Linked DNA regions of Homo sapiens: regions 1, 2, 3, 5, 6 and 7 are each linked to region 4. The links are contacts of gene promoters, found by promoter capture Hi-C in human tissues and cell types (Jung and others, 2019). All regions are on one chromosome and are shown on one strand. Each heading gives the region's core, a stretch centred on a gene start or on the middle of the fragment in contact. The rest is flanking DNA. Distances are from core to core; before and after follow the strand shown. Region 1 overlaps ECPAS (Ecm29 proteasome adaptor and scaffold). Region 2 overlaps MUSK (muscle associated receptor tyrosine kinase). Region 3 overlaps SVEP1 (sushi, von Willebrand factor type A, EGF and pentraxin domain containing 1). Region 4 holds the start of LPAR1 (lysophosphatidic acid receptor 1). Region 5 overlaps SVEP1 (sushi, von Willebrand factor type A, EGF and pentraxin domain containing 1). Region 6 overlaps MUSK (muscle associated receptor tyrosine kinase). Region 7 has its middle 6.9 kb from the start of MUSK.

Region 1 (2,863 bases), core at 102-2,601, 330 kb before region 4:
GGCCACCAAAGAGGACAGATTCCAGGAGTTCTCTAACATTGTCATACCTCTCATCAAGAAGGTAATACCACCTGTATCCTCAGTTCTGGTTTATACTTTAAAAAGAAAAAGTTAAAAAATTGTTTTCCCCTATGTCCTGATTATTAGGATTAGTTTAGCTGCAAGTAGCAGAGAAATTCCAAAATACGGCCTTAAACAAGATAGTCAATGCTATGTTTCTCACAAAGCGTTGGGAGCATCACAAAGTGTTCAGGTATTCCGTCTCTTTACAGCTCTGAACTCTGCCATTTCTAGGGTGTGGTCATCATCCTCATGGTCCACAGTGTGTTTGTGTTCTAGGCAGGAATGCAGAGGAGATGAAGCAAGGATGAAGGATACAGTGGGCATGCCATGTCTCTCTTGAGGAGAGTTCCTGGGCACCGCTAGATGGCACTTTGACTTATAGCCATCCTGTTGGTCAGTACTTAGCCACACCTGGCAGCAGACTGAGTCTTCATTCTGGGTGTCCATTTGCCCTCCATGGGAGAAGGGGAGAGTGGATTTGGTAGTGAATGAACAGTTTATGTCATAATAAGCTTTGCCTTGGCTAATAAGCTAAGCCACCCCAGCCATCCTAGAGTAAAGGCAAGAAGCTCAGTGTGCCATGTGAATTGCCTCTGCCATATAGTGGAGGATTTGGGTCAAAAAAAGACTCAAGTTTCATGTGGAAAATGGAATACTCATTTTTAAAAGTTGGGCACTGGTCCCCCCCCCAAAAAAAAGGGTGTGGTTTCCCTGTTTATTTGTGAAACATGAAATATTTTAAGTAACATTCTTATTTCTTATTGCTCCTAAATTGCAGTTGTTTTCTTTCAGTAATAAGGCTATTTAAATAATTTCCATTACAAACATAGTGATAGCATATGGATTTGGGAGACTTGTGTTTTAAGTTGATTACATCACTAGCAAGCTGGACCAGTTGCTTCTCTTAGCCTCTGTTTCTCTATCAAGAAAGAGTTTGGATTTAGATCATTACTGAGTTTCTTCCATCTTTAAAATCTGATTCTAATGCAAGTCTTTTCATGTTATGCTCAAAAGACTACATATGCAGTATTTTTTAGCTTTTGTTTACAGATGCCTGTAAAGTATTGCCTAAATTTATTAGAGATACAGTATTCTGGTTATAAATTCTTGTTGTAAATAGGGAAACTTATGGTAGAGAATTTATCATTTAACTCTTGGTTAATATCTCCTGCCTTGGTTGGTACCCTGATAGCTTTAATAGTATACCTGTAACTTTGAAGAAGAAAATATTACATTTTCTTTTCTTTGATATATCCTAGAACTCACTTGAAAGCAGTGGGGTCCGGACAACCAAAAATGAAGAGGAGAATGAAAAGGAAAAGGAGCTCCAGCTGGAATATCTGCTGGGTGCCTTTGAAAGCCTGGGCAAAGCCTGGCCGCGAAACGCGGAGACCCAACGTAAGCACCAGAAACTGCATTTGAAGTGCTGTAACCAGAGGTTACTTAATGAGAGCGAAGAATTTTCTCTATGACAAATTATAGTTATTGTTTCTTATCGAGCCTGATTGATTAATAATGAGAATTATCCAGTGAAAGTTTTTTGTCTACATGAGTCTGTGATCTCACTGATCATTGTACCGCTGTAGCTAGGGCTGCTGTAAGAAAGTATCACAGACTGGGTGGCTTAGCAGAAATTTATTTTCTCACAATTCTGGAGGATAGAAGTCTGAGATTTCGAGATCAAGGCGTCAGCAGGGTTAGTTTCTCCTGAGACCTCTCTCCTTGGCTTGGGAATGGCTGTCTTCTCCCTGTGTCTTCACGTGGTCTTTGGTGTCTCTGTGCCCTAATCACCTCTTCCTATAAGGACACCAGGCACGCTGGATTAGGGCCCACTCATATGACCTCTTTAAAGGCTCTGTCTTCTATTTAATAATAATACAGTCAAATTCTGAGGTACTGGGGGATAGTATTTTAACATACGAATTTTGGGGGCACAGTTCCACCTATAATAACCATGATACATTTTATGCAGATAGTTTGATAGACGAGTTCTACTGATCTTCTTGATGATCATAGCTCTATTCAGAGGAATGCACAAAGTTTATTAGCAGGGTCTCTTTATCCTGAAATGAATGGTCTTGTTACCAAGTGTTCAGTAAGCAACTGAAATCCCTGTTTCAGTGAAAAACTCATTACTATTTGGACAATTTTCAGAACTGGACATGTATTTCCCAAAGATTAAATGAACAGTAAACCTCTATTATTGGATGAGGTTGCAGTTAGTTTGGAGTCCCCTGACAGGGCCTTAACCTTGGGATGATACTACCCTTTACACTTGATCTTAGCCAAAAGGCCAAGAAGTGATGATGCTACCCTTTAAGCTTGCCTTGTGTTGGGTCCTACAGTGCATCCTGCTGAAGATCTTAGTATTCGTTTTTTTTTTGTTTGTTTTTTTTTTGAGACAGGGTCTTGCTTTGTTGCCCAGGCTGGAGTGCAGTGGTGCAGTTCTTGCAGCCTTTACCTCCTGGGCTCAAGTGATCTTCCTGCCTCAGCCTCCCAAGTATTTGGGTCTACAAGTGCATGCCACGACACCCAGCAAATTTTTTTTGAAGAGGTGAGGTCTTGCTATGTTGCCCAGGTTGGTCTCAAACTCCTGGGCTCAAGTGATCCTCCCACTTTGGCCTCCCTCTCAAAGTGCTGGGATTATAGGTATGAGCCTCCATGCCCAGCGACAATATTATTGAATGTTATAAAAAGTACTGTTGATTATTTGTGATTGGATATGTCTAGAATCAGTTAAGGTTCTCTTTGAGCCCTGTCATCCTTTGTGTGAACTTATATATTTGCTATGTTTATAGGA
Region 2 (2,767 bases), core at 183-2,682, 340 kb after region 4:
CATTGCTTTTAGAAGGGGGAAATGTTGCAGAGTGGGGTGGTGAGACATACAAAACTATATACTGGGTATAATGTACAGCACTCAGGTAATAGGCACGCTAAAATCTCAGACTTGGCCACTATACAGTTCATCCTTGCAACCAAAAACCACTAGTACCCCAAAAGCTATTGAAATATGAATAAATAAACACATTGCTTTTAACTATCAGGTTTACCTTGCACCCTAGATGGTATCTTTAGAAGAGTACATGTCCTTTGAAATACTAGAAAATTTCACACATAATATTAAAATTACTCTTTGGAGTTTAAATATTACATCTGTCTTTTCTGTTTTGAACCCTAAATTCAGTAACATAAGTACAACCACCCTTGTTTGTCATTGTAGGAAATGCACCAAGATTTATAACAAGAGGAAAGCCAGATAATTAATCATTAAAAATTAGCAATATTTATTTTATTTTAAATAAAGCAAAGCTGAGCAATTTTATACCTTAGTTCAGTTAATTGACATAAAGTGACACCTTTGTATTCCTCTTAAAATATACTATGCATTGTTAAATGAAAAACATAGTCTGTAATCTTTTAGGTGATATAAAGATGGAAAGACAATAATGATGCCTCATAATAATTTATCAATAAATGTGGGGATAAGATACAGAGGCAGTACAAAATAAGCATATGGATAATAACTTTTTTTTTTTTTGAGATGGAGTCTCATTCTGTTGCCCAGGCTGGAGTGCAGTGGTGAGATCTTGGCTCACTTGCAACCTCTGCCTCTCGGGTTCAAGTTATTCTCCTGCCTCAGCCTCCTGAGTAGCTGGGATTATAGGCACACACCACCACACCCAGCTAATTTTTGTATTTTTAGTAGAGACAGGATTTCGCCATGTTGGCCAGGCTGGTCTTGAACTTCTGACCTCAGGCCTTGGCATCCTGAAGTGCTGGAATTACAGGCGTGACTACTCTTCATGACTCAGGAGGGATTTGCCAAGGTATTTGTGTATGAGTCTTGAGTCTTTTCGCCTAACTTCTCTCCAGAGATCTCATTTCTTTTCTTCCGAACCTTGTCTCCCTCCCTCCTTCCAGAAACTGTCAGTTCTAAAGCCTGGGTTTTAGTTTTTCTTTTTCATCCCCTAAGTCTCAGATTCAACATTAAAAAAAAATAAATGATTTAGCCAGCCAACAAATACAAAGGATTCCAGGTTTGCTTTTTCATTGCCTCCTTTTCTATCTTTAACATTATTGGTTCCCATCTCTTTTTTCCCTAGCCAGACCCAAATGAAATGCCATGCAGTTTGCATATATGCAAACAGAAATATTTACATTTGGTTAAAATGTACATGGAAACTACTTTATACTAGAAGTTTGTAAGTGTGTAACTGAGTGTGTAAAGAAATGTTATATTTTAAAATACATTTTATATATGTGTTTTAACATCATAACCACTTACCCTGAGAGGGCTGTCTCCCTTTATCCAAGACACTGATGGTTTGGGATTACCCATTGTAGTACATGGTAGGACTGCTTTTAATCCCTCTATTATTTTCACATTTATGGGAGGACGAGTTATTTTAGGTTCTAAAAAGAAATGAAAATTCAAAATAAATAAGGCAATATGGCTTTATTAAACCTAGAGTTTCTAACTTTCAATTTAATTCTAAACATCTGTTTTGAGAATCATTTGAGGCATGTTACATTACAAAATTCACCAAATGCAAAGACAGTTTTCCTCAGTAGATCTCAAACAGAAATCAGTTTAGAAACACTTGGTTGTCTCTGCTTTATTAGAATCTTACTAGCAAAACACAAATTTATGAAAAATATTAACAGTGTGAAGTTACCATAGCATTCTTCATTTTAAAAGATAGTTAATAAAAGCTGATTAACATAGACTGTCACCATAGCAATTCAACATTATTTAATTCATACTGATAGACATAAAACATTTGAAAAGAAAATTTTGATATAACTATATTCTTACCTAGTTAGAAATTATGACCTATTTTCCCTTTAGCTTCCATCTTAATTTGACTATTAAATTTTATGATTATTAATTAAATACATTCATTCTCTAGAAAGTAAACCAGATATTATTATATTAACAATCAGAAGAAATTCTGTCATACAATTTGGGGGGACTCAAACATGTAATTTACTGTTCAAACACTTTTAATCTTTCAGAAGAAATAGTTTATGCCAGTTAATTTTTATTCTCAAATATGAAACTTTCAAAGAAAGTTATTAAATCTAATATACAAAAGAATTGATAAGTTCAGGATGCCAGTTATTTTAGTACTATTCGTAAAATAGTTAAAACTACATTTATGTCCTTAGGAATTTTACGTTACAGATACAGAGGGGGACTTCGCAAGAGAGACTACTGAGCAATGGACACATTTTATTTCTTGCAGGACATGTGCCGTAACCAATTTGTTATTTTGACAAAGGAACGCATGAAATATGGACTTTGTTTTCTTCTACTTCAATGTGAGGGAGAGGAATGGGGGCTTTGGTGTTGTTGGTGGTAAGAGATACTTGCAAAGCCTTCATGACCTGTTGGGTTTTGTTTTTTTGTTTTTTTTTTTTTTTTTTTTTGAGACGGAGTCTCGCTCTGTCGCCCAGGCTGGAGTGCAGTGGCGCGATCTCGGCCCACTGCAAGTTCCGCCTCCCGGGTTCATGCCATTGTCCTGCCTCAGCTTCCCGAGTAGCTGGGACTACAGGCGCCCACCACCACACCCGGCTAATTTTTTTTTTTTTTTTTTTTTGTA
Region 3 (2,986 bases), core at 234-2,733, 500 kb after region 4:
GTAAATAAATGTTGAGGATGTTCTCCACACCAAGCCCACTGCTAGGTATGAGGTAGGTATTCAATAGTGAGCAGACAGATATGGTCACTACCTTCTTGGGACTTACAGTCTAACTGCAAAAATCAGTTTGTAATTGCCAACAATGTTATGTGTTATTAAATTTTATTTTTAAATGTCCATAGTATGAAGAACACACAACACAGAAGTTTCAAGTTAGACAGACAGCTGAGATCTGAAGGATGACTAGACGATAGCTGTTTTATTACTTAAGGAGAGGATGTTAAATTTCATTCTGAATAGTTGGAATTCTGAGTATTTATCCTCACTGCAGAAACAATGCCTTTCAGAAGGAAATCATTCCCTTTTAGATCCAGAAGTAACCCTAGAGATTATCTGCTCTAAACCCCTCATTCTACAAGAGGAAATTGAGGCCTCAGGAAAGATGAGTATGTTGCTCAAGATAACATACCCAAACATCAGCAGAACCCCGGGAAGAACCCCAGACACTTTTCTCTAAGTCCTATATTATTTCCAAGATATCACACTGCTGTCTTCCCCCATGTTTGAAAATAACATCTTATATACATTGCTTCTCAGAGACAACAGACACTGAACTGTGTTCAAAATGTTTCGCAACACAGAAAGAGCTGGCTTAAATTCAGCCTCTGCCAATTACAAACTGCATGGCTATGAGCAACTTAATTTCTTCTGTTCTGAGTTTTTTCTGTAAAATGGGCTTAAATTATAGTATAATTTTATACATATCTACATGCATATATATGCATGTCTATGTACATAGATATGTATAAATGTAATATGTAGATATCTATGTATATAGATATATATAGATATCTATGTATATAGATATATATAGATATCTATGTATATAGATATATATAGATATCTATGTATATAGATATATATAGATATCTATGTATATAGATATATATAGATATCTATGTATATAGATATATATAGATATCTATGTATATAGATGTATGTAGATATGTATATAGATTGCATGTGTGTATGTGTATGCAAAACTAGTTGGGTTAATAGAGAATATACTTAGAATACATAAGATGGTATGTGGCACATCAATTCTCAACCAGGGGCGGATTTTATTATTAACGATTATTTTGAGATAATATAATTGTCATGAGAAAGCTAATGAATGAGCATTAAGATAATTACTTCAAGTATGAAGTGACAACCGTATATCTTATGAATTCTACTGTTCTAGGCTAGACTAGGGGTATTATCCTGTGCATTCACCAGTGCATGCTGGCGCACAGGCCTTGCACCTAGTAAAGAGCCCTTGCACCTACTAAAGGTGGAATACACTTTTAATCTGATGAGTATCCAGTGAAAAGCAAGACTATTAGATGGGAGAAAGCAGAGGAATAATGTGCCATTGAATGTTGAAGAAAGCAGATGTTATTAAGCTTCAGGTCAATGACAAGTTTAAAAACAATAATAATAAAACAGACAAAAAGTAGAGGTTGTTTACCTTGATTAGGATAAGGACAGATGCTGAGATGAGTTATATTTGTTAGTTTCATAGACAAGTAGAATATTAGAAATGCCCATAAGGGTTTTTCCTCATCATTCGTTCGGAAGATGAGGAAATCCCATCCCATCATCATGTAGTAAATTTGTGGCAGAGCTGAAGTAGAATTAAGGTATTCCAATTCCCAGGCCAAGGCTATCTCACAGGTACCCTTGAGACCAAAGATAGCTGACCATCATGATATTACTGTGGTCTTCTCTTTCTTCCTCGTTGTTGTGGGAGATTGGTGGTCTGGGTTAATTGAGTCTTCAAACAATGACCTCTCAAATCTGTAGCCAAGGCGGTGGCTTCCCTTGAAATGAACGCCACTGTCACAGTAAGCAGCTACTTCATGGACAAGATCCTGATGCACAAAAATATTGTAATAATTGTAGATCTGTTCCATGTCATGAAAATCCTAACTTGAATACCAGTCTTTGTTAGAGGTATTTGTTAGAAATCACTGACAAGTAATAGTCTGTCAAAGAGTTCAGTTTTATAGCATATGATATGTTTGAACTGGTTTATAATTTCCCTTGACTCAAAACTTCAATGAATTAGTTTCAAGTTAATCATGTGCTTTTAGCTAGTGGTCTTGTCGTTCTTGTTCTTTTCTCTTGATGTTACATTACTCCTTAAGAAACCAGAAATGGAGAAAAACAGGAATACCCAGATATCAATACTTTTCTTGTGGTAAATCAATCAATGTTTTACAAAAGCATTGGTATTTTGCTGTTGTTGTTGTTGTTTTTTTAAAAAACCCTACATAACTCTGTTTCATTTACTGCAAATATTTTGGATGACTCAGGAATGTAGGTCTGGTATTTTAACACCACATAATTAGATTTAGAGGATGGAGAAAATATTATTCTGGGTTTAGTTATTAAATTTCAGCTAAGGGAACAGTATTGCAAAACTGTGGATCTAATGAAAAGAAGGTGTTACTTACATTTCCACCTCTGTTACTAGTATGACTGTCTTCATCCTTTACCTTTCACCTAGGCATTTGGATAGTGAGAATGATGATGATGATAATGATAATGATGATGGTGATGAGAGCAATAACTGATAATAATAACAATAGTAGCTAATATTAAATAGTGCTTACTATGTACCAGACCATTTTCTAAGCATTGTTTATATTAACTCGTAATCTTTACAATAACTCTCTGGAGCATTTTCTCATTTTATAGATAAGGAAACTAAAAGTCTGAGAACTTAAGCAATTTGTCCAGGGTCACACAGCTAATAGAGCTGGGATATGAGCTCGAGTTTTCTGGCTGCACAGTCTATAGTCTAGCCACTTTGGTCACAGAACATTTAAAAATTAATTTCAATTTTTATTATTCTATGGGATAGAAATTTAACAAACAGACTCACAATTAAGAATATAATTTTTGTGCTTGCTTTGGCAGCATATATACTAAAATCGGAGTG
Region 4 (2,921 bases), core at 344-2,843:
GTGCATGAACATATTAGCACTGTGCATGTACTAAAATTTCAATTTTTTCACATAGTAGGTTATAAAATAAATCATATATTCGTAGGAAAGGTATAGAAAGCAAAGTTATTTAAAGTGGATTTTTAAAAAAGATTTGAATGATTTTTTTTAAAAAAAAGATTAGAACCATTGTTTTTAAAAGGAAACAGCTTTAGATAGTAAATTATTTACAGCCAGGACTCAGCCCTGAGCATCCTGTGAAAACCACACGAGCTTGGTCAAGGTTCTAAGCAGTCACCGGTGGGAGATGGTCATGGTCCCGTCACAGCATAACTCACTTGAGGCTTGAAAAGTTTCCGTCCAGCTACGGTTTGCAGTGACCTTTCTCTTCTGCAAAGCCCACGGTTACCTGGTGGCCACCACCAACATAGCCCCGCCTCGCTGTCCTGCGTTTCTCTCAATCAGATCAGTCCTGCCGAGTCCCCATGCCTTACTGCTGGTGTGCTGTGTCCTCTGTGCCATTTCAAGGCGAGGGCTCATGAAACTTTTACTCACACGCTGCTATTTTTGATATGCGGTGGCCTTAGCTGTGGAGCGAGAGGCCGATAATTGTGATCACTCCGGAAATCCTGGGAAGCCAGAAGTGGGAGATGGGTGTTGTGAGGTGGCGTGGCTAGGGAGACCCCATCGAGTGGGTGTGTTATAAGACCTGGGCGAATCCCTGTGGCTGCCACTCTCCTGAGAATGTTCCCTAGGCCTTAGTCCCGCGCCGCTCCCACCCACACCTCCAGGTGTGCAGTCCCCGCCCTTAATTACTCTCACTAAAATTGATAGTTTACACTTGCAAAGCTACACTGGGAAAGCGGAAGAGAAATTTATAATCGTGGATATGGAGAACTAGGGGAGCAGACACACTTGCTTTCGTTTACAGATCCAGTGAAGTGAAAAATCAGAACTAGAAACGTATGCACCTTCCTAGCAGCAAAGCCGCTTCTGCGTTCTTCGCAGCCTCCAGTGCAGGGCGGCGCTGGGAGAAACTTTGCGCCTTCTGGAAAGTTTAGAAAGTGAGCCACGAAAGAGAGGCCACATTTCCGGGGTTTTGCGGGCCCCGCGATGTTTTCCAGAGCTTTTCGAGTGGGAAGAGGAGAGCGACAACGTGAAAATGCCCCGTGCCGGGGCGTCCACCGGAGTCCTGCCAGCTGTCCGGCGCTGGGGTAAGCGCAGGAGGGGCGGGGGTGGGACCCGAGCTGGCGGCCACGGGTCTCCCGCTGCGGGTGTGTCGACTCGGGGGCGGGGCGGGGGAGGCTGCTGAGATAATGAATGGGAGGCTAAGGCCACCCCCCAGCCCCGGCCCTGCCACCACCGTGGGCTGTCGAGCCAATGAATGGAGGAGGGGGCGCAGAGGTCAGGGGCGCTGGGGGCGCCACACCAGGTAAGGGGTCCAGCTTGGGAGCGGGGAGGGCGGACTCTGGGGGTTCGGGTGTTGCTGACTTGTGCTACGTGGAACAAGCAGAAAAGAAGGAAGGCGGAGGAAGAGAGGAGGCTGGCGTCGGCGCTGCTCCTCTGGCCCTCCCTCTGCGCCCCCTCCTCCTGCCAGCGCGCCAAAGCCGGGCAGTAGGGGCCGACTGGCGGCTGACGCTCCCTGAGTGGCGACTCCGTCTCCAGCCCCGCTGCGGAGCGCGGGCCGGATCTGGGGCGGCCAGGGCCCGGAGCCGCGGAGCCCTCCCCGCCGCCCGGCCGAGCACGGGACCCCGGCGGGGTGGGCGCAGGGGGCGGCCCCGCTCTGGGCGACTGCCGAGGGGCGGGCGGAGGGCCGGGCTCGGCTGGCGGTGGGGCGGGGGCCGCCGGGACTGGGCGCGCGGCCTGAAGCCAGCCCGGGGGCGGCAGGAGAGGGACGCGCGGCGGCAGCGAGCGCAGGTAAGGGGGCCGGCGCGGCGTGTGGGGACGGCGCCCCCTGGGCGCGAAGCCAGAGGCCGCGGCGACTGCTCGGCCCGCCACACGGCGCGCTGGGCTCACACTGTCCCGCCGCGGACGGGCTTTGTGGTTGGGGGCGCGCGTGCGAGTGCCAGTGAGAGTGTGGGTGCGCGCTGTGGGCCGCGGCGCGGGTGGGTGGCCGTGCGTTCTTGCGAGCCGGCCTGCAGGAGGCGAGGCTCCCCTGGCCTCCCGCACCCAGCGGCGGACCGAGCCCCTGGAGGGAAGTTGCCGCAGCCGCCCGGGCCGCCGGCCCTCCTGTCCCGCGCCAGGTCAGTGCGCCCCGGGGCCCGCCCAGTGACACGTAGGTGGCCTCCGGTTACCTGGGTCGGGGTGGGTGCGCGGGAGGGCTTGCGAGGGGCCCTCGAAATTCTCCCAAAACCTCGTCCCGCTGGACTTGCACCTCCGAGGGGTCCCTGCGCCCCTGGGGCTCCGCACCTCTCGCTTCCCACTGACGACTCGGTTGTCCCCCACCACCGGGCTGAGGACTTTTAACTAAGTTTCTGTCCAGCCGCCTAACAAACGTGCTTAACAAGTAACAGGAGGTTGTAAGGCAAGGGAGGGACCTGGCTTTGAAAGTTGATGGTTTTGAAATCGACGGCTCCTTTGACTTGCGTAGGACTCCTTTGTGGTGAATGGATTTAAAGTTTATTCTTGTTTTTCTTTGCTGCCATTTGGTCTTTGCAATGTTAAGAGTGAAGGCATTCAGGACTTGCTGCTGCCTGCTGTCTGGGGCCTGAGGTTGTGGCTCTCCGCTTCTGCTCTCCTCTCTTCATTTTTGTTGAAATCCGTGGATTTTTTCATAAATGTGGGTGCTGGCTTGTTTCACTATGGACGCGTCGTTTCCTATGGGGTTAGATAGATATTGGTAAACATAAATATTGAAAATGTGATGATCACATATTGATGATCACAGCGAAATCCTCTATTCCTTCAGGCTCTAACAGTTTGTTTTTCACGTATTTGCATAA
Region 5 (2,867 bases), core at 255-2,754, 480 kb after region 4:
GACAGAGGTGTATACTGGGCCACTGGAACTTCACGTTGGAAGTTGAAGAGTTTGACATTGATTTAGGAGCCATTAGACTGTAAGTGAGACTCAAAGTTCTGAGTTCACATGATACTGCCCAAAGGAAGCATGAAAGAGAAAATTTGGAAATGGCAAACAACAACAAACTATAACATAGAAGTAAATGAAAAACCCTAAAGACACTACTAGGAGACAGTCAACATTTTGATGTACAGTCATGCATTGCTTAACAATGGGGATACCTTCTGAGAAAAGCATCATTAGGCAATTTTGTTATTGTGTGAATATCACAGACTGTATTTACAAAAACCTGGGTGGTATAGCCTACTAATCACCTAGGCTATATGGAATAGCCTATTGCTTTTAGGCTATAAGCCCTTACAGTATGTTACAGTACTGAATACTGTGGACAATTGTAACAGTATGTTAAATATTTGTGTATTTCAACATAGCTATAGAAAAGGCAGAGCAAAAATATGGCATTATAATCTTATGAGATCACGGTTGTATATGTGGTCTGTCATTGACCAAAACATCATTATGTGGTACATGAGTGTATACATGACTATATACTGTATGAGTCAGTCACACTCATACATACACAAACAGACATACAGTACATTTCCACATACATGCACACTAATGTCATGTACATATAGGTAATGAAATCATTGTGTTTGGTTGCCTACTTCTTAAATTTAATAGTGTTCAATAATATCATTGTAATAATATTATGTGATTACCCTATAATTTATTTAACTAGTGTGCTTGTCCTGTTGTTGGAACTTTATATTGTTTCTAATTTTTTATTATTGCAAATTATTCTGGGATACACATACATCCTTTTGATCATTTTGTGTGTGTATCCATTGTTATTTCCTTAACATATTCTTAGCTGTAGAATTTCAGTTCAAATCATGTGAAAATTTTAAGGCTTTGATCACTTTGTCAAACCGTCCTCCAAATATTACCAGGACAGGTGGTATTCCCAACAAAAATATCTGTTTTCCTATGTATTTTGCAATTTTGAAATTTAAAGAAAACCTTGGCCATTTGAGAAGTTAAAAAAAAACAGTGTTACTATTTTTAAACTTATGCTATTTTGGTATTAATGAAGTTAAACATTTTTCATATTTTCTGGCAAATACAATTTCTTTTTTTGGTCTTTGTTTTGTTTGGTCAAAAATGCTCAACTGTATTTCTGTTATTTTTTCTCTTTTCTCCTCCTTAGACAGCTATAAAAATTATTTATATTTTAAAGACATTAATACTATATTTGATAAGCATAATACATATATTTTCCAGTTTGTTGTTTTCTTTCTAATTCTGATTTTTTTAGAGGGAGCAGAAGCTTTAAGAAGTATAACACTTTCTATGGTTCTGTGTCTTATTATGTTAGCTAGGAAGTTCAAAAGGATTTTAAATAATAATGAAAATACTTAATACTACTGATTTATTTCTTACCTACTTGGGAAATCTGCTGTTTTTCTAATAGTTGAACATGGTTTCCATTATTGTTTTGAGATAGATAATCTATCATACTAATGAGGTATATTTTTATTCCTAATTTTTATTGATAAGCAAAGCAAAAATTAATTTTATTGAATGTCTTTTCAGCATATTGGATTATTACTTCCTTTTAATTGGGGTAATAATTGTGTTGCATTGGAGCCAAAGACTTTCCAATTTTAATATATATTTATATTTGAGGAATAAGCCTTATCACATAAACGAGAAAGTTTCTTTTAATATTTGAATTCAGTTTGGTAGTATTTATATAAAATTTTGTGGCTATGTGAGATTAGTCAGCAGCTTTCTACACTAAAATTTGTACTAAACTTTATCAATTTGAATTTCTGGCATTTTTATCTCACTATGAGCAATGTGGATCTCTGTCTTTCATTATTTTGAGTTTTCATGCATTAGTTTCTTATCAAATTCCTCTCTTACACATCTCTCTTTTCATTTTAGCCTATTCTCTTTCTATGGCTTTCAGTTCTTGTTTTTTATGGAGGTTTTGACTTTCTAAATCCTAGTAATACAAGCACCATTTTATTATGCTTTTTTTTTTTTTTTTTTTGAGACAGGGTCTCATTCTGTCACCCAGGCTGGAGTGCAGTGGCACCATCATGACTTACTGCAACATTCACCTCCTGGGCCCAAGTAGTTCTCCCACCTCAGCCACCCAAGTAGCTGGGACTACAGGTGTGCACCACCATAACCAGCCTATTTTTTGCAATTTTTTTTTTTTTTTTTTTTTGTAGAGACAGGGTTTCTCCATGTTGCCCAGCCTGGTCTTGAACTCCTGGGCTCAATCAATCTGCCTGCCTCAGTGCTGGGATTACAGGTGTGAGCCACAGCACCGGGCCAATTATTCTTATTTTCTTATTTTAGTATTAAATTACATACTCTTCCAAATGCTTCAGTTGATTTTGTATATCTTGGATTTACAGAATATTTTCATAGGCCTTCTCTAGATGTTTTGTGTTTTTTCATCCTGGGATGAGGATATATCTATCTTGGTTTACACTGTCCCATATTATAGCCACTAGCCACATGTGTCTACTTAAATTTAAGTTAATTAAAATTAAACAAAGTTACTAATTCAATTTCTCAGTTGCAATAGTCTCATTTCAAGTGCTCAATAGCCATATGTGGCTACTGTATGTAACAGAACAAATGATAATGTCAAGCATTATAGAAAGTTCTATTGGGGATTGGTGATCTAGGCCATCCATTTTCAGACACAGGCTGTGGCTTATTTGTTACAAATAAGAGGGTTAACCTCTTCACTGATCATTTGGGTGGGTTATCAGCTTGCTTTAATAATATTAATAATAATAGAT
Region 6 (2,961 bases), core at 455-2,954, 330 kb after region 4:
CAAACCCTTATCATTAAAAGAAAACCTAGCAATAATGACAAACCTAAATAAATACCTGGTTTCTCTTTCCTGACTCTTGGTAGCTAAAGCAAAGAAACCCGATCCTGGTGTACTGCCACTGTTTACGTTTCTGTCTGCTTTGAAGCAGGGCAATGCCTGAAGAGGTTTACCCACTGTGGCTCCAACTCTGAAGGAGTCAGAAGGCAAGCTCCTTTAGAAAACATACACATCATCCTCAAATACAGTGACTCTCTTCTCCAGGACAAAATAAGGGCTGCCTGCCTCAATGATGTGGGATTCCCTCCCATGGCTTGGGTTGGGAACATTTCTGTGGCCTTTGAGATGGTAACGTTTTTCTCACTTGTAAATATGGATGGTGAATAGTGGGTACGAGCAAGAAATGTTTACCATGTAAATCAGACAAGAGCTACACAAAGTTTACTTGTTTTTGTTTCAGTCTTAGGTGTATATAAAGCAACCGCACTTTTGTTAAACTGGTTCTGAAAATATATTAGAAGTTTAATCATCAGCCAATAAAATATGTGACTTCATTCCTGATTCACTTTTTTCTTCTTAAAGAAAGTTCATTTTCTGTTTTTGATGGGAGGAGATGCTAAACTGCTTAATTACCAGGACAAAGAAGTATTTCTTAGTTTACCTTTTTAAAACATTTTTATTTTGAAATAATTTTAGATTTACATAAGAGTTGCAAAGATAGTATAGAAGGTTTCCATGTACTGTTCACCCAACTTCCCCTAATGTTAGCATCCTGTATAACCATGGTACGTTTATCAAAATCTTAGTTTACTTTTAAATAACTTTTTTGATCTAAGCTCTGGAAGATGCCTGCACTCTGACATGCGTTAAACGAGCTGAGGTCTATTAAGAATAAGATTTTTGTTTTAGCCAACCGGAAATTTTAGTTGGAAAAATAAATAGAAGCCATAAACTTAATCTTAAATCATACCACAGTATCCCAGTTGCCTAAAGTGGCTTGGGTTGGGAACATTTCTGTAACCTTTTAGATGGAATTCTGGATGCCAGATAAGGCCATATGCCTCCAAACCATAGGTTCCCACATTGTCAGGATGTTAGGTATCTACCCGTTTAAAATTATGTCTAAGAGAGGGCTAGGCATGGTGGCTCACACCTGTAATCCTAGCACTTTGGAAGACTGAGGCAGGTGGATCACTTGAGGCCAGGAGCTTGAGAGCAGACTGGCCAACATGGTGAAGCCCCATCTCCACTAAAAATACAAGAATTAGCTGGGCATGGTGGCACATGCCTGTAATCCTAGCTACTCAGGAGGCTGAAGCATAAGAATCGCTTGAACCTGGGAGGCGGAGGTTGCAGTGAGCAGAGATTGCACCACTGCACTTCAGCCTGAATGACAGAGAGAGACTCTGTCTCAAAAAAAAAAAAAAAGAAAAAAAGGTCCAAGAGAAGATACCAAGAAGATGATCTCCATGTTAGCCTGTGAGTCAAATCATGGTTTATTCTGTTTTTATAGCACCACTAATAGATACTGTCCCAAACTCTCTAATCCTTCTTTTACTCCCTGGTTATGAGTCAGTGTCAGGCTGTGCTTGCATGGTAAATCTGAATTTTTTCCTCTATTTTCTTTTTCCTCCCTCAATGTGATATGATCCTCACCAAGAGCTCCTCACTCTTCATCAATCAAAGCCCTGTTGGCCTTCACCTCTCTGAAGATTTCCCTGACCTTTCCCTATCTCCTCTGTCCTGTGTATATAACCCTACACAAACTTCTATCATTGTAAATATATTGCATTTTACTTGTTTGCATATCCATCTTCCTCACTGAATTTGAACACTTTTCAAGAAATGAACCACATCTCTCTTTCGTCTGTATCCTTAAGAATTACCTCATTGCATAGAACATAGTAGGCATTCCACAAATGGATGAATTTGAAGCTATCCTAACATTGATATCTTACTATTTGCAGATAAGCTTTCTCCTTGAATTGTTTAGATTCATCTGGAATAAAGTCCCTCTAAGTAGAAAACCTGAAGTCAGTGTTTTTCAAAGTGTGGTTCATGGGTCACTGCATTAAGGATCCTTTGGGGTGTTGTTAAAAAGCACTAACATAAACCTATCAAATATGAATAACTGGGGAATGCATCCTGAAGCTGTGTCATTTAGTAAGATCTCCAGATGCTTCTGATGTGCACTGGCATTTGAGAACCACTTGGAGGAGAAGTTCCATGAATCCGTCAACTTAGTTATTTCTTTCTCTTTCCATAGAGATCTTAAGGAAGGTATATTGATATGGCCATAAATTAAATGAATAACAATATATTAGGATCAGGGAGAAAACCTCTGGATGGTTTGGTGTAACAGATACTATGACTAAGCTTCAAATTGGATTCTAAGATACATGCCAGGCCGAGCAAAAAATAAAGTAAAAGAAAATAAAGTACACAGTACTTACTATAGGAATGGATAAAATGTCAGTTTCTCAGCAGAGACCCTTCTCCCCAACCCAGGCACTGATTTTTTTTTTTTTTTTCAGAATAAACATGAGTTAAAGGTTTTATTTAACTCATTCACAAGGAAACCAGTGAAGTGTTGCAACCAGGTGAAAAGAGAATCCCAAGGACAGACCCATTTATAGATCAGGAATATTAAAATGACTGTGCAAACAGAGCCAGATTGGGTTTTTTGGTTGCTTTTCCACTGGACAGAATTCATTTGCAAGTCTATGGAGGAGAACGATTTAGCATTGCTGCCAGTTATCTACAATTTATAAAGCTTTAAAACAGCTCCCACAGAATTGGAATCACACAACACAGGTGTGCTCTAGAATGACAACACACAATTTTCCATTTAAGCACAAATTGTTCCTTATAGTCTCCCCACTTTTGATTAAAAAGAATCTCAAAGATTCTTGACGACAAAGTGAGTATGGCCTTATTAGATTTAGCCTGGTTCTTTACACAGGT
Region 7 (2,835 bases), core at 56-2,555, 380 kb after region 4:
AAAAGACAAATAACCCAATTTTAAAATGGGCAAAGAAGTCAAGCACAGTGGCACACCCCTTTAGTCCCAGCTACTCGGGATGCTGAGCCTAGGCGTTCAAGGCCAGCATGGGCAACATAGCAAGACCTCATTCACTTAAAGAAAAGTGGGAAAAGGATTTGAATAGACATTTCTTAAAAGACATACAAATGGCCAACAGGTATATGAAAACATGCTTAAAATCATTAATTATCAGGGAAATACAAATCAAAACCACAATGAAATATTATCTCACTCCAGTTAGAATGGCTATTTTCAAAAAGATGAAAGGTAACAGGTGTTGGTGAGGATGTGGACAGAAGGGAACCCTGTATACTGTTAGTGGGAATGTAAATTAGTACAGCCATTATGGAAAGCAGTGGGGAGGTTTACCAGAAATCTAAAAAGAAAACTACCATATAATAGAGCAATCCCACTACTGGATATATATTCAAAGGAAATGTAATCAGTATGAATCAGTATGTCAAAGAGATATCTGTATTCCCATGTTCACTACAGCATTATTCACAATAACCAAAGTATGGAATCAACCTACATATTCATGACTAGATAAATAAATAACAAAAATGTGGTACTATATATATATATATATATATATATATACACACATATATATGTGTGTGTGTATATATATACACAATGGGATACTATTCAGCCTTTAAAAAGAAGAAAATCCTGTGATTTGGGATAATATAAATGAACCTAGAGGACATTATGTTATGTGAAATAGCCAAACACAGAAAGACAAACACCACATGGTCTCACTTGTCTGTGGAATCTGAAAAAGTTGAAATCATAGAAGTAGAGAGAATGGTGATTACAAGGGACTGGGGGAGGGGAAATGGGTATTGGGGAGATGTTGGTGAAAGGATGCAAAATTGCAGTTAGGAGGAATAAAAAATAATGATTATGAATTTTTGGGCACCTAATTATCCTGGTGTTTCAGGGCCTAAGATATTGGGCAAGTAAGTTTGGGGTTTTGTTTCTTTCTTAACAAAAAGGAGACTACACTTCCCTCTCCACCGGAACCTCGATTTCACATCTACCCTATACACAGCCTTAGTTCATGCCATCTTTCTTAGAGCTGGAGATCTAGATAGTGAAGGGGAGCTACTGGTAGTGGGTTTTCATTTACAACTCAGTTTCTCCAACCTGCTCCTAGTGCAGTTTGCGAAGGAGAAAAATAGCAAACCATAGTTTTATCAGAACTGTTGTCTCCTGAGATAGTGTAGCCTATACACTTAAGGTAATCTTAATACAATTCCAATCGTATTTTGGAAACTAGGAAGCTGATTTTAGAACATATATACAGAAACAAAGTAAGCAAAAATAATCAGGGAAAATGTGGGAAAAAAAGCTTTTTCCATTTATATTCTAGTAGTTTCAGTTTCCATTCTTACGTTTAAGTCTCAAATCCATTTTGAGTTGATTTTTATATAAAATAAGGGCCTAATTTTATTCTCTGCATGTGGCTATCCAGTTGTCCCAACACAATTTTATTGAAGAGACTATTTTTGTGTATTCTTGGCATCGTTATAAAAATAAGGAATCACTTGCCTACCAAGTGTTAAAATGTATTGTAAAGGTTTAATAATAGCTTAATGTAATGACATTAAAATCCTGTGGTATGAGGCTATAAGTAGAAGGTCAGTGCACACTGAATGAATGATAAAGACGGCATTTTAAATTAGTGAGGAAAGATGACTTATTAGGTGAATTTGGTAGCCATTTTAAAAAATCAATTACATCTGTACCTCATATATTACGCCAAAATAAAATTTGGGATTTTAAAAGTACCAGAAAAAACATGTGTATGAGAGAGAAGGAATATATCTATTAGATCTATAGCTTTACATATATTTTCCCAAACATATGAAAATACTGGCCAATTATTTTCACTTAAAAGCCATTTTTCACTTGGCTTTTTAAATCGGGCTCTTTCCTGTTTTTCTTGTTATTTTTTGTTTTCTCTTTCATGAAATCCTTTTTCTTCCATGGAGAAAATAAATGTTAGTTTTCTCCAAGCTTAAGTCATTGGCATTTTTTTTTCAGTGTCCACACTTACAGCATTAGTTAACAGGTATATGCATGTGAATTCTACACCTGTATCTCTGAATTAAATCTCTGTCTTGGGAAACACTGGTATATCTGGTCACCTACATGCCCGTCTCACAAGAAACCAAAACTCAACTTTTGAGATATATTAAATTAATCTTTAAATGGTTTAATATTCAATTAGAACTAACAGTGAGATAAAAGAGGACCGCTCACTTTTAAACTTTGCTTTCTCTTCCCATCACTGTGAGAGACTTTAAAACAAAATGCCATTTTACAGGCCATATCTCCATAATGGGTGCTCACTGTCCTCATTGAGCTAAAATACTTTTGTAAACCAACACTCATCCAGATATTGGACTCTGTTCAAAATCCTTATACATGAAGGCACGGGGAAAAAGTTGGGGAATATGTGTTTCCTTCTATTGGTGAGTTTAATAGTCTCTTCAATAAATTGTGTTGGGATAACTGGATAGCCACGTGCAGAAGAATGTAATATGTTTGATAAACTATGGATTGTATATAAATTCAGAATTGTTTTTAAAAAATTAGCAGGTCTGTAAATTGACCTGAAAAAACATGAATTCTAAAAGTCAAAGTGCTGTTAAAGTTAAGATAGTATCACGCAAATAGCTAATCCTAGACAGCTAACTTATCTTCAAATAAAATGCTATCCATTTTTGTTCGCCTCCTTGCCCTCTATGCAAGGGAGAAGTCATTATGGGGAGTTCTGGGAGACAG

The links. The method cuts DNA at HindIII sites, captures the fragments that hold promoters and counts their contacts. A contact is called where the count stands out against the background at its distance.
Region 1: a fragment that was not itself captured here is called in contact with the fragment with the promoter of LPAR1 in region 4 in 4 of the 25 tissues and cell types used here (IMR-90 fibroblasts, adrenal gland, lymphoblastoid cells and 1 more).
Region 2: a fragment that was not itself captured here is called in contact with the fragment with the promoter of LPAR1 in region 4 in 3 of the 25 tissues and cell types used here (adrenal gland, dorsolateral prefrontal cortex and mesenchymal stem cells).
Region 3: a contact is called between a fragment that was not itself captured here and the fragment with the promoter of LPAR1 in region 4, in 1 of the 25 tissues and cell types used here (mesenchymal stem cells).
Region 5: a contact is called between a fragment that was not itself captured here and the fragment with the promoter of LPAR1 in region 4, in 1 of the 25 tissues and cell types used here (mesenchymal stem cells).
Region 6: a fragment that was not itself captured here is called in contact with the fragment with the promoter of LPAR1 in region 4 in 3 of the 25 tissues and cell types used here (dorsolateral prefrontal cortex, mesenchymal stem cells and neural progenitor cells).
Region 7: a fragment that was not itself captured here is called in contact with the fragment with the promoter of LPAR1 in region 4 in 9 of the 25 tissues and cell types used here (IMR-90 fibroblasts, adrenal gland, aorta and 6 more).

The regions. Positions count from the first base shown.
Region 1 is chr9:111,367,633-111,370,495 of GRCh38, reverse strand. ECPAS (Ecm29 proteasome adaptor and scaffold) reads left to right here. Exons shown (of 50, transcript NM_001364929.1): 45 at 1-61; 46 at 1,323-1,461. Among named protein-coding and RNA genes, the nearest start is that of OR2K2, 39 kb to the right of the region's middle. The HindIII fragment of the contact is 3,117 bases long and covers 1-2,863 here.
Region 2 is chr9:110,694,213-110,696,979 of GRCh38, reverse strand. It overlaps MUSK (muscle associated receptor tyrosine kinase), which reads right to left. Exons shown (of 15, transcript NM_005592.4): 4 at 1,450-1,577. Among named protein-coding and RNA genes, the nearest start is that of MUSK, 27 kb to the right of the region's middle. The HindIII fragment of the contact is 5,815 bases long and covers 1-2,767 here.
Region 3 is chr9:110,539,761-110,542,746 of GRCh38, reverse strand. The region is part of intron 3 of SVEP1 (sushi, von Willebrand factor type A, EGF and pentraxin domain containing 1); the gene reads left to right. It overlaps LOC124902331 (U6 spliceosomal RNA), which reads left to right and starts at 2,949; the gene lies at 2,949-2,986. The HindIII fragment of the contact is 4,530 bases long and covers 1-2,986 here.
Region 4 is chr9:111,037,142-111,040,062 of GRCh38, reverse strand. It overlaps LPAR1 (lysophosphatidic acid receptor 1), which reads left to right and starts at 1,593. Exons shown (of 6, transcript NM_001351411.2): 1 at 1,593-1,896. It overlaps LOC124902248 (a long non-coding RNA gene), which reads right to left. Exons shown (of 2, transcript XR_007061732.1): 1 at 2,274-2,921; 2 at 1-608. RefSeq lists a silencer at 1,824-2,163. The HindIII fragment of the contact is 11,259 bases long and covers 1-2,921 here.
Region 5 is chr9:110,557,748-110,560,614 of GRCh38, reverse strand. All of the region lies in intron 1 of SVEP1 (sushi, von Willebrand factor type A, EGF and pentraxin domain containing 1), which reads left to right. Among named protein-coding and RNA genes, the nearest start is that of SVEP1, 21 kb to the left of the region's middle. The HindIII fragment of the contact is 7,411 bases long and covers 1-2,867 here.
Region 6 is chr9:110,711,727-110,714,687 of GRCh38, reverse strand. All of the region lies in intron 5 of MUSK (muscle associated receptor tyrosine kinase), which reads right to left. Among named protein-coding and RNA genes, the nearest start is that of MUSK, 44 kb to the right of the region's middle. The HindIII fragment of the contact is 4,819 bases long and covers 1-2,961 here.
Region 7 is chr9:110,660,430-110,663,264 of GRCh38, reverse strand. No RefSeq gene overlaps it. Among named protein-coding and RNA genes, the nearest start is that of MUSK, 6.9 kb to the left of the region's middle. The HindIII fragment of the contact is 6,229 bases long and covers 1-2,835 here.